Linked DNA regions of Homo sapiens: region 2 is linked to region 1. Evidence: promoter capture Hi-C in human tissues and cell types (Jung and others, 2019). All regions are on one chromosome and are shown on one strand. The core of a region is centred on a gene start or on the middle of the fragment in contact, and the rest is flanking DNA. Distances in the headings are between cores, read along the strand shown. Region 1 holds the start of PRAME (PRAME nuclear receptor transcriptional regulator). Region 2 has its middle 17 kb from the start of LL22NC03-102D1.18.

Evidence for each region. Contacts are between HindIII fragments. The study calls those that stand out against the background at their distance.
Region 2: a fragment that was not itself captured here is called in contact with the fragment with the promoter of PRAME in region 1 in 4 of the 25 tissues and cell types used here (H1 embryonic stem cells, dorsolateral prefrontal cortex, heart left ventricle and 1 more).

What each region holds. Positions count from the first base shown.
Region 1 is chr22:22,553,158-22,560,771 of GRCh38, forward strand. PRAME (PRAME nuclear receptor transcriptional regulator) reads right to left here and starts at 6,108. Exons shown (of 6, transcript NM_206956.3): 1 at 5,814-6,108; 2 at 4,388-4,423; 3 at 3,655-3,752. The coding sequence starts at 3,675. It overlaps LL22NC03-63E9.3 (a long non-coding RNA gene), which reads left to right and starts at 6,186. Exons shown (of 3, transcript NR_027426.2): 1 at 6,186-6,250. It also overlaps IGL. RefSeq lists a silencer at 1,007-1,204 and an enhancer at 6,025-6,319. The HindIII fragment of the contact is 17,569 bases long and covers 1-7,614 here.
Region 2 is chr22:22,724,792-22,732,491 of GRCh38, forward strand. It overlaps IGL. Among named protein-coding and RNA genes, the nearest start is that of LL22NC03-102D1.18, 17 kb to the left of the region's middle. The HindIII fragment of the contact is 6,996 bases long and covers 1,641-7,700 here.

The DNA of each region.
Region 1 (7,614 bases), core at 4,858-7,357:
GATAGCTTTATGAAGAGCATCATGACATCACCCCTTCCCACTCCCAAACAATCCCCAAGTATCAAATTGTCACTTATACCCCATGTTCCCTAACACAGCAAATCACATGCCTATCCAAGGAAAAAGGGAGGAACAACAGAGGGGTGGCTGGTCTTCCAGACTTTGAAAGTCAAGGCTGTCCTGAAGGAAGGTGGGTCAAAATTACACTACAATTAGGAGTTAGTCAGAAGTAAGGCTGGGCATTTGTAATGGGACTGAGTGGATTACCACAAAGACAGATAGGTTTTTTTGGGGGCGGAATTGAAAGACTTTGGCCTGGATGGAGTAGAGAAATTAAAAAGGGGAATGGCTAAGGAAGATGAAAGATAGTTCCAGTAAAGCCAAGGTAATCACTGAGGCAGGGAGGGAGTTCAATCTTCCTCCCTCCCTAGAGGGAAAGGGTGTTTTCTCCCAGAAAGTCAGGATCCTCTTGGCAAACAGCCTTGACAAGATTAAATCTAGGAATGTGGGCTGGAGAGGTGGGATAGAGAGTAATATTGGTGACCAAACCTAGGACAGCAACATTTTCAAGTCTGAAAGACCTTGTGGTTTCTTAGGAATCTTGGAGCCAGGAAAGAAATAAACAAGGGCTGAAAGCACACATCCCTGCAATTAAAGAAGTTGTCAGAAGACCTTCTCTTTATGGTTAGGTGTCCTCTTCCACACTGGGGCTGTTCACAAGCAGCAGGTCAGGCCTTTACCACAAACATAATCTCCAATGGCCAGCCCCTTCCTAAGTATTACTAATGTTTCCACACTTCAAGAAAACAGCTGTTCTTTCTTGCCCCTAAGCTGCTCAGGTACAGAGATTCTGGTCAGCGAGATGCAATCAGGCCTATCAATTAGACTCAGTTTTTCTCTATTTCCATGCTAGGCACAGTGCACAAATACATTTTCCGTCACAAAAAATTGAAGTTATATTTGGCATTTAAGGATCTGCTTAGGGATGATTCCTATCCTGGGCCTGATCACCCACTGGTGCTTTTGAAGTTTTGGAACCTCTCCACCCAAAGAATTCTCCAGGCCATTCTCTGCCTCATGCACTGTGAAGTCCCTACAATTCTTATATTCTACTGGCAAGTGTCCAGCTGGAATGTCTTGCGGCCTGACTTTGTTTACTGTGGCCTGCGTAAGGAGGCTGTAATTCGTTGAAGGATGTTTTCCATTTTGGTTCTCTCTCTGGAGACTTTCTCCTACTTTTCACCCTCAACACCTAATGGCCTTTGTGAAAACCGGGTTAAACTACAATTTGTTCTACATTTCCTTTAATTCCCAGGCAATCATCTTCACTCATCAGCTGCGGGAGACTGAGATTAGTAATAAAGGTCATTGTCAATGTCCCTAATTATCAAGCAGCTACTGGGCACAGCAAAGGCCGCAGCAGCTCTCATTCATTACCTCAAATAGCCTTCACAGAGAATCTAAAGTTCACTGTCATTTTCATTTTTAGTCTTGTAAGTCCCTGACTCTGTCTGGGGAAGAACCTGCTCAGCTCCAAGCAAGCAGGAATTGGTAGCCCTTATGTGAGGAGTTTAGAAAGAGTTTCATTTCCCTCCCTATCAAACAATCTAAGTGTTAGAAAGGGCTGATAAGCTTCACATAAACCATGGAAAAACAGGAAAACTGAGTAAGTCCAACAGTTAGGGAAGCTTCCATGGGATCCCCGCTTCCAGGAGATCCAAGGGAGGAGGAGGAACCGCGATCAAGTGTGAGTTGTGTAATCTCTGAGCTGTGCAATCTCCCTGTGAGGCAGTGACACTCCTCTGTCCAGCTTCACACTGCCAGTTTGTCCAGTGGCACTGGAGGAAGCAGCACCAGGGGCACATTTGCACAAAGGTGCTGTCCTTCCTCCCAGTATAAGGGAGAAGTGAAAAGACTGGGGCCCAGCATGACTCCTAGGGTCCAGACATGAATTGGGGAGATATTTCTGCATGTCCTGTCTACTGGTTCTTATGGTCCTTGTGGGCTGCACAGGCCAGAGTGGCCTCTGAGCTCATCAGGTGGGTGGTCTGCACCCTCCTCTCTAGTCATAGAATCCCAGTGGGGACCCCCGAAGTATCTGCACCAGGTCCTTCAGGTGTTTTTTTTGGAGTGCAGTGGCGCAATCTTGGCTCACTGCAACCTCTGCCTCCTGGGTTCAAACGATTCTCCTGCCTCAGCCTCCCAAGTAGCTAGGATTACAAGCACACGCCCCCACACACGGCTATATTTTTGTATTTTTAGTAGAGATGGGGTTTCACCATGTTGGCCAGGCTGGTCTCAAACTCCTGACCTCAAGTGATCTGCCTGTCTAGGCCTCCCAAAGTGTTGAGATTACAAGAGTGAGCCACCATGCCCAGCCTCTTTTTCTTTTTTAGAGACAGGGTCTTACTATGTTTCCCAGACTGGTCTTGAACTCCTGGGCTCAAGTGATCCACCCATTTCAGCCTCCCAAAGTGCTGGGATTACAGGCTTGTGGATACCAACAGCACCCGAGCACGGTCCCACAGTCCAACGCACTGTGCCGTCCTTGAGCCTTTAGTTCCAGCACAAGTCTCCCGGCTTCAACCCAGGTTGCATGTTCTCCCTGATCTCCCCAGGTGGCACCCAAGGATGAGGCAGTGCAATCTTGTTGCTCACTTCCCAGGACCGACACTTACCCCTAATGGCCCAAGCCCATGGGGCAGTGAGATCAAAGCCTCCTGGAGCTCATACTCTCTGACACCACTGGAAGTGTGGGCTTTTGCGTCTGATTACCCCGGGGAAAGGTTCTGAATGTAATCGTGGCTTTGGCAATAAGGTCCACAATGCATTAAGATTTTTTTTTTTTTTTTGGAGGAGGAGTTTCACTCTTGTTGCCCAGGCTAGAGTGCACTGGCACCATCTTGGCTCACTGCAACCTCCACCTCCTGGGTTCAAGCGATTCTCCTGCTCCTGTCTCAGCCTCCCAAGTAGCTGGGACTACAGATGTGGGCCACCACGCCCAGCTAATTTTTTTTCTATTTTTAGTAAAGACAGGATTTCACCATTTTGGCCAGGCTAGTCTCGAACTCCTGACCTCAGGTGATCTGCCCACCTCGGCCTCCCATGGTACTGGGATTGGGATTACATGCATGAGCCACCATGCCTGGCCTAGGGTTAATTTTTATTTTTGGAGACGGAGTCTCGCTCTGTCGCCAGGCTGGAGTGCAGTGGCATGATCTTGGCTTACTGCAACCTTCGCCTCCTGGGTTCAAGCGATTCTCCTGCCTCAGCCACTTGAGTAGCTGGGACTACAGGTGCATGCCACCACGCCCGGCTAACTTTCTGTACTTTTAGTAGACGCGGGGTTTCACAGTGTTAGCCAGGAATGGTCTCAATCTCCTGACCTGGTGATCCGCCCGCCTCAGCCTCCCAAAGTGCTGGGATTACAGGCATGAGCCACCGTGCCCGACCCTAGGGTTGACTCTCATACAAAGACAGCACGGGAAGTGAAATGCTCTTTTGTGGAAATGACCAGAAACAATAAAAGCGGCTCCTGCCTCTTCGTCTACTGTGAGGGACCTCAGGATGCAGCTCCCATCTGGCTCGAGTGACAAGGACAGAGGGGAACAGGGCTTCTCTGAGCACCTCAGACAGCTCAGGGGACCTTCTTACCCACAAACGCCTTCGTTCCATTTTGAAGCGACTTAGGCTGGCCTCAGGACCTCCAACGCTTGGATTTCTAGGTCTCAGTCACTTGTTGCCACGCACGTCTGAGAGTAATAATCAAAATGCTCCAAAAAGAAGAATACATGTATAATATTTACGAAGCAACGGCCTCCTGTGAAAACCTCCGCAAATACTGCTGAGGAAACTGACAACTGGCGACTCAATCCCGCCCTTTCAGTGCAAATCTCTGGCTCCAAACCTGAGCACCAGTGTTTCCTGGGCTGAACCAGGGGGCAGGAGGAACAACAGACCATGTGGTTGGTCACAAGTGACCCCTGTGGTCAAGGACCCTGACTACGGTCTTGCAGCGACATTTCTGCCTCTGCTCCCGCCTTCCTAGGACGCCTACGCCACTGCCTGGGCCGTCCCCAACCCCCAGCACCTTCAGAGGGGCCGAGTCCCAGAGCATCCACCGCATTACAAATGCGCACCCACCCTGGAGAGCTCCAACCACGAGCACCGCCGCCTCGGTTCAAGGCATCCTTACAGCCACAACTCCTCAACTGGGGCCAATTTTCCGGGGCAGGCGGCCCGGGGTGACCCAAGTGGCGCACATTATTTTCTTTGGTCTTCAACCCATTTCCAGAGAGAAAACAGGGACCCGGGACAGGGGTGGTGCTGGGGGCACAAGCCCAAGGTCACCCTGCGGGGAAGCGGAGGAATCAGGGCTCGAACTTACGTTTTTCCTCAGAGAGTTCACCACACCGCGAAGTTGCTGGAAGGAAAGAACGAGACAATGGCTCAGCTAAGCGCCCTAGCCGCTGCGTGGGGCGGGGGGGGCGGCGGTGGGGACCGGGGGGCTGGGCAGCCTGGTCTGACCAATCCCCGTTTCTCAGTCCTTCCAGGGCAAAATCTCACGAGATCCAGTGAGGTCGCCCAGAGAGTCGAGAGGGGCTTGTTTTCAAAGACTGGGAGGAGGAGGGGCAGTGGGGGAGGGGCAGTGGGGGGAGGAGCAGAGGAGAAGGGAGCAGGAGGAGGGGAAAAGGGGAGAGGAAGTTGGAGAGCAGAGGAGGCTGGGGGTGGGGAGGAGATGGGGGTGGGGAAGGAGGGGAGATGGGGGTGGGGAAGGGGGGGCGGGAGGAGGGTTAGGAATGGGGGAAGGAAGACAGGGTGGGGGAGGGGTGGGCATGGGGGAAGGAAGACAGGGTGGGGGAGGGGTGGGCATGGGGAAAGGGAGACAGGGTGGGGGAGGGGTGGGCATGGGGGAAGGGAGACAGGGTGGGGGAGGGGTGGGCATGCGGGAAGGGAGACAGGGTGGGGAACCGAGAAGAAAGACAGTGGGGGGGGATGGAGGAAGGAACACAGGGTGGGGTGGGGGGTCGGGATGGGGGAAGGGAAACAAAGAGTGGTGGAGGCGTGGGGATTAGGAACGGAGACAGAGGGTGGGGGAGGGGTGGGGTGGGGGAAGGGAGACAGGGTGGGGGAGGGGTGAGGATGGCGGAAGGTAGACAAGGCGGGGGAGGGGTGGGGATGGGGGAAGGGAGACAGAAGGGGGGGAGGGGTGGGGATGGGGGAAGGGAGACAGAAGGCGGGCCAGGGCGGGAATGGGGGAAGGGAAACAGGGTGGGGGTGGGGATGAGAGAAGACAGAGGTTGGGGGAGGGGTGGGGATGTGTAAGAAAAACAAAGGGTTGGGGAGGGGGAGGGAAAAGAGGCAGAGAGTGGGGGAGGGGGTGGGGATGTGGAAAGAAAGTCAGAAGGTGGGGGGTGAGGGGTGGGGATGGGTGAATACGTGATGGCTGCGGCCTTTCCCACCAGACAGTAGGGTGGGGGCAGGGTGGAAAAAGGGGGTGCGGTGGGCGAATGGAGAGGCAGTGGGGAGGCGGGGGGCTGACTGGGAGTGTGGGACGGGGTGTTCTGGGATCACGGAGACGTCCAAGTCTGGACTCTGTCCTGGGTCTGTGCTTCTGGCGACCTCCCTTTTCTTCAGTGGGATGCGGGGTGCAGGGGCCGGTTCCAGGGTCCCCTGAGCTCAAGTTCTCGCCCCACCCCGCCCCGCAAGTCTAGAAAAGATGCCCCTGGCCTTGGCTGGGTAATCTCTGGATTTACCTACTTCTGTAACCCCCCGGGCTGAAGAGACCACCCCCCGGGATTCAATTAACTTACTCTCTGGAGCGCGCGTTCCTCCCTGCTCCCGGGAGTCGGTTTCCCAGAACTTTCTGAGGCCCGCGCATGCTCCCCTCGACTCCCCGTGTTTCCACTCTCCACAGAAATCCACGCATTCACGCCCCTCCCCTCCCCCGAGCCTGCAGAGGACTCCGCCCTGCTTTCCCTACATTCAGGGCTGCTCCTTTTGTCGCCAATACAGACCTGTTGACAGGTCACGCCTGGGAAGCGGGTGGGGTGTCCCGGAGCGGTGCTGAGGCGCTGCAGGCCCGGCTTCTGGCTGCGGGGGAGCTGTACCCTGAAGCCTCGCCGGAACTCGCGTCTGGGGCCAGCAGGGGGCACTAGAGTCAACAGGGACTGTATGCAAAACCCACTTCCTCCCAGGCCCTCTAGGGGGATGGTCAGGCTTCTGCAGAGATGGGGAGGATCCTTTCCTGGTAAGGGGAGAGGGACGGGCTAGGAGCCAAGCGGAAGGACCCCGTGTTCAAGGCCCTTCAAGGGACGGGACAGGCGAGGAATCTCTTTGAGTCTTTTGAATTGTTTTATCAGTCAGGCCTGGGAAGTACTCCGCCTCCACAAACTCTGTTTTCCTGAAAGGGGTCGGGGGGGGGGACCCCAACATCTCCTGCCACAGGCTATGATGGGCATGGTGGCTAAGAGCAACAGGCCGCGTGGTGAGGCTGGCTTTTTGTGGCTCTGCCCTGCCATTCCCCGAGGCATCCCCATGCCAGTGAACAGAGCTGCGGGTTCCCAGCTGCACAGATGAATGCACGAACAAAACATAGGTCCATGCAAAGGAAGTCATTGCATTGATCCAGATTCGACCTGGGATTGTCGCATAAAACAGGGCTGATAAAAACCGTTGTGTTTTCACCTTCGAAACAGAGACTCAGCCTCCCCCTCTCTGCTTGAGGCATTCAGCAAAGGTTCGTCCTTGAGTGGCTGTGGATGCTCAAGGACTTACGATTTCTGACTTTATAAAGTTTAGGGTGAAAACAAAAAACAAAATAAGAAGACCATTGTTTTAAAGTGGCCGTTGTAGCTAATTATCTCAAGAAAGCAAACAGGCTGGTACTGAAAGTTACACAGGCGGGCGGCTCCCTGGGAGGGTTGCCCAGCTCTCCTTTTCTGAGACCTGAGCAGGGAGCAGCCAGAGGAGCTTGAAGGGATGGTGTTCAGGGCATGGGAACAGGCTGCACACATCTTCACGGAGTACGGTGCTTGTCCAGTTTGAGAAGGGAAAGAAACTGGGGCAGAGGGCTGATGAGAAGGCAGCAGATGGATAGTGCGGGATTGAAAAGGGGATCCATTTGAAGACTGGCCACCATTATTTATTTTCATCATCTGATTGCTGTTGCTCCATTGAGATCGATGCGTGGAGAACAAGTTGGGGAGTGGAACAAATGGCAGGGAGGGGAGAGAAGTGAGTGAACATGACCCTGGTCCAGCCTCATAGGACAGAGCGTGGTCATGAAGTCCACAGAGGAGGACAGGTAGGGAGGAATCATGGCATGGCCAGGTTGTAGGGCAAGAGGCAGAGAGGAGAGAGGATTGTGGAGGATGCCTGCGGAGTGCCGACTGTCAGTCGAGGCTGGTCCTTTATTTATTTATTTTTTTTTTTGAGACGGAGTCTCGCTCTTGCCCAGGCTGGAGTGCAGTGGCGCGATCTCGGCTCACTGCAAGCTCCGCCTCCCGGGTTCATGCCATTCTCTCGCCTCAGCCTCCCAAGTAGCTGGGACTACAGGTGCCCGCTACCATGCCTGGCTAATTTTTTTGTTTTTAATAGAGACAGGGTTTCACC
Region 2 (7,700 bases), core at 3,889-6,388, 170 kb after region 1:
TTTCTCTAAAGGACTTCTTTCACTTCAAATTTGAAATTATTCTTGTTTTAAATGTCACAAATGATAAACCTTATAGAATGATAACACAATTGTATGTGTTATAAAGTCACAGGGTCTATCAAATGATGAACCAATCATTCGGTGTTGAGGTTAGTAGTATTTTTTTTATTTCGATTCTCACTAAATGAGAACACGTTTTGTATTGAGGGGCCATGCCCTAACCATACCACATCGTGGGGTTGCTCAGAGACTGTGAGGTTCTGCCCACACTAAGCCAGAAGGAGAATTTTATTCCTAAGCCAGGATGAGAATTTTATTCCTCACACTGCTCTCTGCACTTGTTTGTATCCCATAATATCCCCCAAAAGTGAGCATGAGAAGTTCATTTTTTAAGCTGCTTGTTCATTCTCTTACATTTAATACATGTACCAAAAATTGTCTTCATTTTTAAAATAAAATGTTATGCTATCTTGTAATCTATAACCCTATAGAATAATCTTGATCCATACACTTTTGCTATCACAAGCAGAACAAGATCCACTTCCTCTCTCTGGGATAAATCCCATGACCGCTGCTCTTTGAGCATTATTTTTCTTAAGTTATTTTTTAAACAGAAATTTATCTGACTTACCTTAACCAAATGTCTTTTCAAAGTAACCGCATTTCTTTTAAGTGAAAAATTAAATAGTTACCTTCTGTTATCAAGAATTATCTGAATACAAAATATTTATTGTTTCAACTTTAGAAGGAATGAAAAACATCTACAGGTTACTAATCTAAAAATGCAGGCTCTGGGTTTCTATGGTGTTAACATGTCTTCCAAATTTTAAGTAACAGGTATTTAAATAACATGAACTTTGTTTTCAAACTTAGAAAATGTTTCAACCTTTTGGCTGGGCATGGTGGCTCAAGTCTATAATCCCAGCAATTTGGAAGGACGAGCTGCGAGTTTTGTCTGATCCCAGGAGCTCAAGACCAGCCTGGGCAACATGATGAAACTCCATCTCTACCAAAAGTTATAAAACTTTGCCAGGCATGGTGGCACTGCCTGTAGTCCCATCTACTCAAGAGACTGAGATGGGAGGATTGCTGGAGCCAGAGAAGTTGAGGCTGCAGAAGGTAAACTGTAGAGGCTAAAACATGATAAATATTTAATTCATCACTTAAAAGAAATGTTGGTTACATTGAAAAGAAATTTGATTAATGTAATTAGATATATTTCTGTTTAAAAAATAATTGAAGTAAGCCCTGTTAGCACCACTGCATTCCAGCCTGGGCAACAGAGCAAAACCTGTTAAAGAAAGAAAGAAAGAAAGAGAAGGAAGGATGAGGAAGGAAGGAAGGAAGGAAGGAAGGAAGGAAGGAAGGAAGGAACGAAGGGGAAAGAAAAAAAGGAAGAAGATATTTCAAGCTTTACAGTACCAGAGCCACTCTGTAATCAATAAGCAACAGGACCAAAACAGAAAGAGATTCTGTAGAACAGTCTAACCAGCGATACAATTATACATTTCTGTTCAGATATCAAAACCATTTTCAATAGTAAATATATGGAATGAACTCCCCACAGAGATCAAGTAGGATGTATGATGTGTGAATGAAATTATGAGTTGAGAGTAGGAAATTTATAAATTTAATCAAACAAATTAAAGCATTATGAGGAAGTTGTACTGCTAATGTATTACTTGGCAAGCTGTTCAGTGGAACACCAAGATATTCTTAAGGAAGTTGCAAATATCTTTTAAAATGTTATCATTGAAGTGGATTTTTAAAAAATGAGGACATGAATACCTTTACAAAGTATTCAGGGATAAAGAGAGAAAAATAAATTTAGATTGTGCATACATATATAAAATTTATTTTAAAAGATAAGCTTGTCTTTTTTATCCCTTAAATAAAAGGAGCAGATATTTAAATTCCTTGTCTTTTATTTTAAAATTTAGAAAATGCTTACAGCTTCCCACACTGAAATTTATACTAAGACAGATAATCTAATCAAGGGATAACAAAATCAAAACAGAATTCTCTTGATGAATCTATTTTCTTGATTTTTAAGTCTCAGTGTGTACTCTATAGTAAAACTATTTATAATTGATTCTGCTGTTTGAAAATATTTACTGATCGTTTATCTTGCACCAAGTGATCTCCAGCTCTGAAGATAGGTCAGTGGGAAAACATACAAAGTTGCCCAGCTTCGTTAAACTTAAATTCTAATGAGGAAAAAAGAAGTAATTAATCAGGGACTTTAAAACAGGAGTGTTGTGATATGGCTTGGAATTCTAACTGCTTCCTGTGCTTGCTGTGTGGAGACTGGATTGAAAAATAGGGCGATAGAAGCTTAAATTCATATAGAATATGGCTAGCCTGTATTTTGAGGGCCCCTGAAATAAGAATGTATAGTAGTTCTCATTATTTCCTCAAGAAATCTGTGCAGTAGAGCTTTGGCCTTGGGAGGGAAGTACTATAGTCACCAAGTGGTGAGGGTGGGAAGGTGAATTTGCAAATACCACTTGGAATGAGTTCACTTTAAAGGTAAAGCTGGCAGGATTTTCATACATGTCAGATCTGAAAAAATGTGTGTGCGTGTGTGTGTGTGTGTTATAGAGAGAGAGAGAGAGAGAGAGTGAAAACCAGACAGATACCGAGAGAGAACGACAGATCTGCAGTGACAGAGAGAATTAAAAGCGGACACCACGAATATTGAGCTCAGAAACTATAAAATGGGAGGTGCCATTAAACAGAATGGGGAAGAGCAAGTTTGAGGAGTATCAGTGGCTCCATGTGGACTTATTGATTTTGACATTCCTAACAGATGTCCAAATGGAGAAGTCAGACAGTGTTGTGCGTAGTCTAGTGTTAAGGTATCAAAGAAAATATCAGGAAATGAGTGACACAAAAATTAGTAAGAAAGCAAAGATAAGAAACATTAGTCAAAGTCCTGAGTCCAGTGGTTATCTAACACCCAAAAAGTAGTAGGCCGGGTGCCGTGGCTCATGCCTGGAATCCCAGCACTTTGGAAGGCCAAGGCGGGCAGATCTCCTGAGGTCGGGAGTTCAAGGCCAGCCTGACCAATATGGAGAAACCCTATCTCTACTAAAAATACAAAATTAGCCGGGTGTGGTGGCTCATGCCTGTAATACCAGCTACTCAGGAGGCTGAGGCAGGAGAATCGCTTGAAGCAGGGAGGTGGAGGGTGTGGTGAGCCGAGATTGCATCATTGAACTCCAGCCTGGGAAACAAGAGCAAAACTTCATCTCAGAAAGAAAAAAAAGTGATAAAGACAAGAAGAAACCAGCAAAAAAGTACTAGGGGTAATTATCAAAAATGTCAAAGGGAAAGTAGGTTAAGTGTTCTGGAATTCTCTCAAAGAAAGTTTTGAAAAAAGGAGGGAGGAAGAGATCAACTGCTTTCAATGCTGCTGATACATAAATTAAGACAAAGGCTGAGGAATTATGCTTCAATTCATCATTTAACGATATGGATATTGTTTGTGCTTTGATAAGAGCAATTTTCTTGGAGTGAGTAGGTGAGAAACCATATTGGAGTGGTTTCTCAAAGGAATGCCTGATCTCTGGATTCTTAAGGAAACTTTTTATTGAACAGTGGAGGCACAAATTGGATTTGTTTTAATTCCGGGGTCGGGACACACTCTAAACATGTGCCTCTGCATGCCTCGCTTATTACAGCTAGGTATCCTAGTATCTTTCAGTAACAGAATAATCACCTGCAAAACCCACACCCATTTAATAGACACGCTTTACAAAGACTGATACTAGAAGTTGTTGGAGAGGATGTGGTTCCACGTAATATCTTATGAGTCACTGATGGGCAAGTAAGCTGGTAAAATGTCTTTGGAAAACTCACTATACCTGCTATACTAAAACATTCAGATACCAAACACCAGAAATTCCATATTGTAATATATTTCTATGAGAAAAAAACAAGAGCCCTGTATTAAAATATAGATTATTATTAAAAATAATCACACTGGGTTTCCTGATTTTTTTATTAGCAAGTCAGTCTCTGCCTGATTCAATAGTACAACCTCTATCTAATATATATATATAGTGTTTTTAATCAACCACTAAGAAAAAGTATTATATTTTATATCAATTCTACATTCAGTGCCGAAACCAGCATTTTGTAGATTCCAGAGATTTGTTGAATAAATAATGAATAACTTAAATAAGTTAATATTTATAGTATCCATATACAAATAATACATCATCTCAGAATACAATAATAACGTTTGTTATGCAGAAAATGATTTCAATCTCAGTTAAAAATATTTTGGGCTTAGGAGTTACTGTCATATATGGATGCTCACATTGTTTTGTTTATACGAAAATGTTTGTAGTTAACGTACGTTTTTGGTACTTAAGCCTTTTGTTCTTGCTGCCATAGCAAATAGTGTGCCTATTAGGAACAAGAACCAGAGGTTTACTTCATCTTAACAGATTTCTTAATAAAATACATGCCATACTGTTTGGTTTAATGCATAAGCAAAGAGTCATTCACTCCGCCATTGCTACGTGTCCCTCCTCTAATACGGCTCCTGAAGATGTTACCGATAGCAGAGGACTTTGTGTTCAACCTAAGCACTTTATAGCCCTTTCACTTTCAACTAAGTATGAGATAAAATAATTCAGCACCAATAAAACAAACACTTCTTAAATACTGACCCTTTTTTTGAGCCTGTTTCACGTTACGCAGCAAGACAGAGTACACTTCTCTTTCCCAGCAAATCAGTGTTGGCACTACACCCTCTACACTCTGAAAACTTGTATTATTGGCTTCCTTAGAAACACAATTTGAGCTTATAATTTAGATGTCATCAAATAATGTACAAAAATATGCTACTTCCTTCCCCTTCACTTCTCTTCTCTTCTCTTCTTATCAGATAATTGTCAGTTGTTTTTTCTCTCCAACTCCTTTCCTCCGACTACTTGATTTTTAAAAGACTTTCTGCACATTTCCAATCTTAGTATTGTAGAGACAAAATGTGTGGTCAAACTGCATATATAGGAAGAGCTGAATTATATGCAAGCATTTTTAAATACACAATTCCTCCTCAGTTTTCTGTGATTATTTCATATAATCAAATGTCTTCCAGATACACATCCCAAACGAGTGGTTGTCAAGCTCTGCTTTGTGGTCTAATTTCATCAGAATTATCCAAAATTCTTATGATAAATACAGATAAATTGACATAACTCCAGATTTATGAAATCAACATTTCCAGAACCCAGGAATATGCATTGAAAAAGTGTATTCCTCAGATGATGCTGACATGATACGGGATCCGAGTTTACAATGCAAGGAAAATTACCTTCCTTGCCCTTCAGCTGACCCTTGTATCCAGAGGTCCTCTTCCCCTTTCATATTCTGCCCTCTCTCCTTCTGCACCTTTCTCCTTTCCTCCCTCCAGTTCTGCTCATCCAGATCCCAAGCCCTCCCCCATGGATTCCCTAAACCTCCCAAATGGTCAGTTGCCACTAAAGTTCCCTCTGTCTCATGAACAAGTTATGTGGGCAAATGTAAAATTTAAGCTTGGACCAAGCTGACTCAAGAGCGGCAATTACAAATTTCCCTAAACCCAGAGGGGACCAGCAAACACTTGTAGAAGATTAGAGATTTCCTGTGAGTGCAAAGGGCTCAGAGTGTCCTGATGCTGTAGACCAAATCTTACTGTCCCCTCCAATTCATGTGTTAAAATCTAATTCCCTATGTGATGGGATTTGGAGGTGAGGCCTTGGAAGGTGATTAAGTGATGAAAGCAGAGAACCCGTGAAGGGGATCAGTGTCCCTATCAAAGGGACGGCTGAGAACTCCTCATCCCTTCTGTCATGTGAGGACACAGTACAAAGATGGCCGTCTATGAACCAGGAAGGAAGCCCTCACCAGACACAAAATGTGCTGACCACTCACTGCTGACTCCAGTGAGTCAGAGGAGCGCAGGCCACATACCTGGGTCTCTGCCTCCATGCCTCCCACAGTGCCCAGGGCTGAGAGCAGAGTGGCAGCTGCTGACTGGGGCTGTGCTGGCCACCTGCTCTCTTCTACCTCTTGCTCAAGCCATGCTTTCAGCCCCATGGCTGAGGCCAGTGGCTAGAGCAGGTGCCATGATGTCAGGCAGCTCCTTAATGGGCTGGTCCTTGGCAGGACCAGGGCAGGGGCAGGAGGGCTCTGCAGCTGCCTCTAGCTCCAGTTCTGTCCCTGAAGGGGGCTCTTCCCCTAGTGCTGGCACTGGCTCATCAGCTGGTGCTGGAAGGTCCTGGATTGCCGCACATTGAGCAGGAGATGAAAAAGAAGAAAGAGTCACCAATGTCAGTCACTTTCCACTGGAATTTCCACACACAGAATCAGCCTCACTGAATTAAAGGAATTCCAGTCCAAAAACACTGCCCCCGCAAAGTCTCCAAAACTACAGGCCCCCCCTCACCATGTGCCTGTGCCTGGAGGAACTCCAGAGGCTCCAGCAGGCCAAGGACAATGCACGGATGTGGCCCGGATGGGATCACCAGTGAGGCCTGGCCTCGTAGGGCCTGCCCAGGGCTGTCCTGTGGTACCTGGGTGCGCCTTCGGCCAGAGGTGCCTGGGGTGAGGAATGAGCCTGCATCGGCATCATGGGAAAAGGCTGTCACTCTGGGCCCTCCTGAAGCAGGAGCCTCAAGATATGCGGATGCAGCATGAGAACATCTTGCTCTCCTGAGCATCTCCCACCAAGGGAACTGGCTGCGGGACTGTCTCTAGGATGTGGGTGCCTGGTTACCAGAATTCTAAGTTCTGTGAGGGTATATCACCAAGGAAGTGAAGTCACTTCTTTAAGGTTCCGTATCCTCAGCCCCTTCCTTCCATAAGACCTACTCAGAACCCCCTGGGCTGCTGGCTGCTCACCCTCCCCCCAGGCCAGATCCTTACCTGTACACAGGTAAGTCCACCCAGGGCCTGCTTGTACACGTGCTCCTGATGTGCACCTGGGACCTAGGAATCCACTTAGGGCCTGTGATCCAACAGGGGCCTAATGTTGTTTAAAAGTAATTTTTATTATTCCTACAGGAAAGAAAAGGCCTTCTAGCAATAAGAAGCACAGTTTCACATCAAAAACATAAAAATGATCAAAATCTTGGGGAAGAAATGTATCAATTTTAATCACTGAAATGTTAACTTTTGATAAATATTTAAGTTTATAAGGAAAAATAAAACCATGCTGATAAAACCACAGTTGTAGGGAATGCTATAGAGTTTCTCCTTTGTGGTTTGAACACAGAAAGGTCCCACCTAGTTAGGCTCATAATTTTCTACCTTAATCTTCTTGTTCTTATGATTAATGGAAAAAATACCATGACAATGATGGTGATGATGGTTCAAGTACACACTGAGGTTTAGTGACAGAAACATCAGGTGCTCCCAGTTACAGTGCAGCTGTTCTTATTGGGGTGGGAAAATCAATCTTGTGTTCAGTATACACGGGAAGCAGGAGTACATGTGGATATGACCACATTTCACTGGACTTATATTTTAAACAGAAGATCTACAGTTTATTCTTCAAAAAATAATAACACTTGCCATGCAAAGTATATATATAAGATGTCTCAAATAATTGTACTTACATTGCATATGAAAGTGATACTATTTTGATATGCTAGGTAAATAAAGTAAATTATTTAACTCATTTACTTCTTCCCTTTGTATTTTTAATG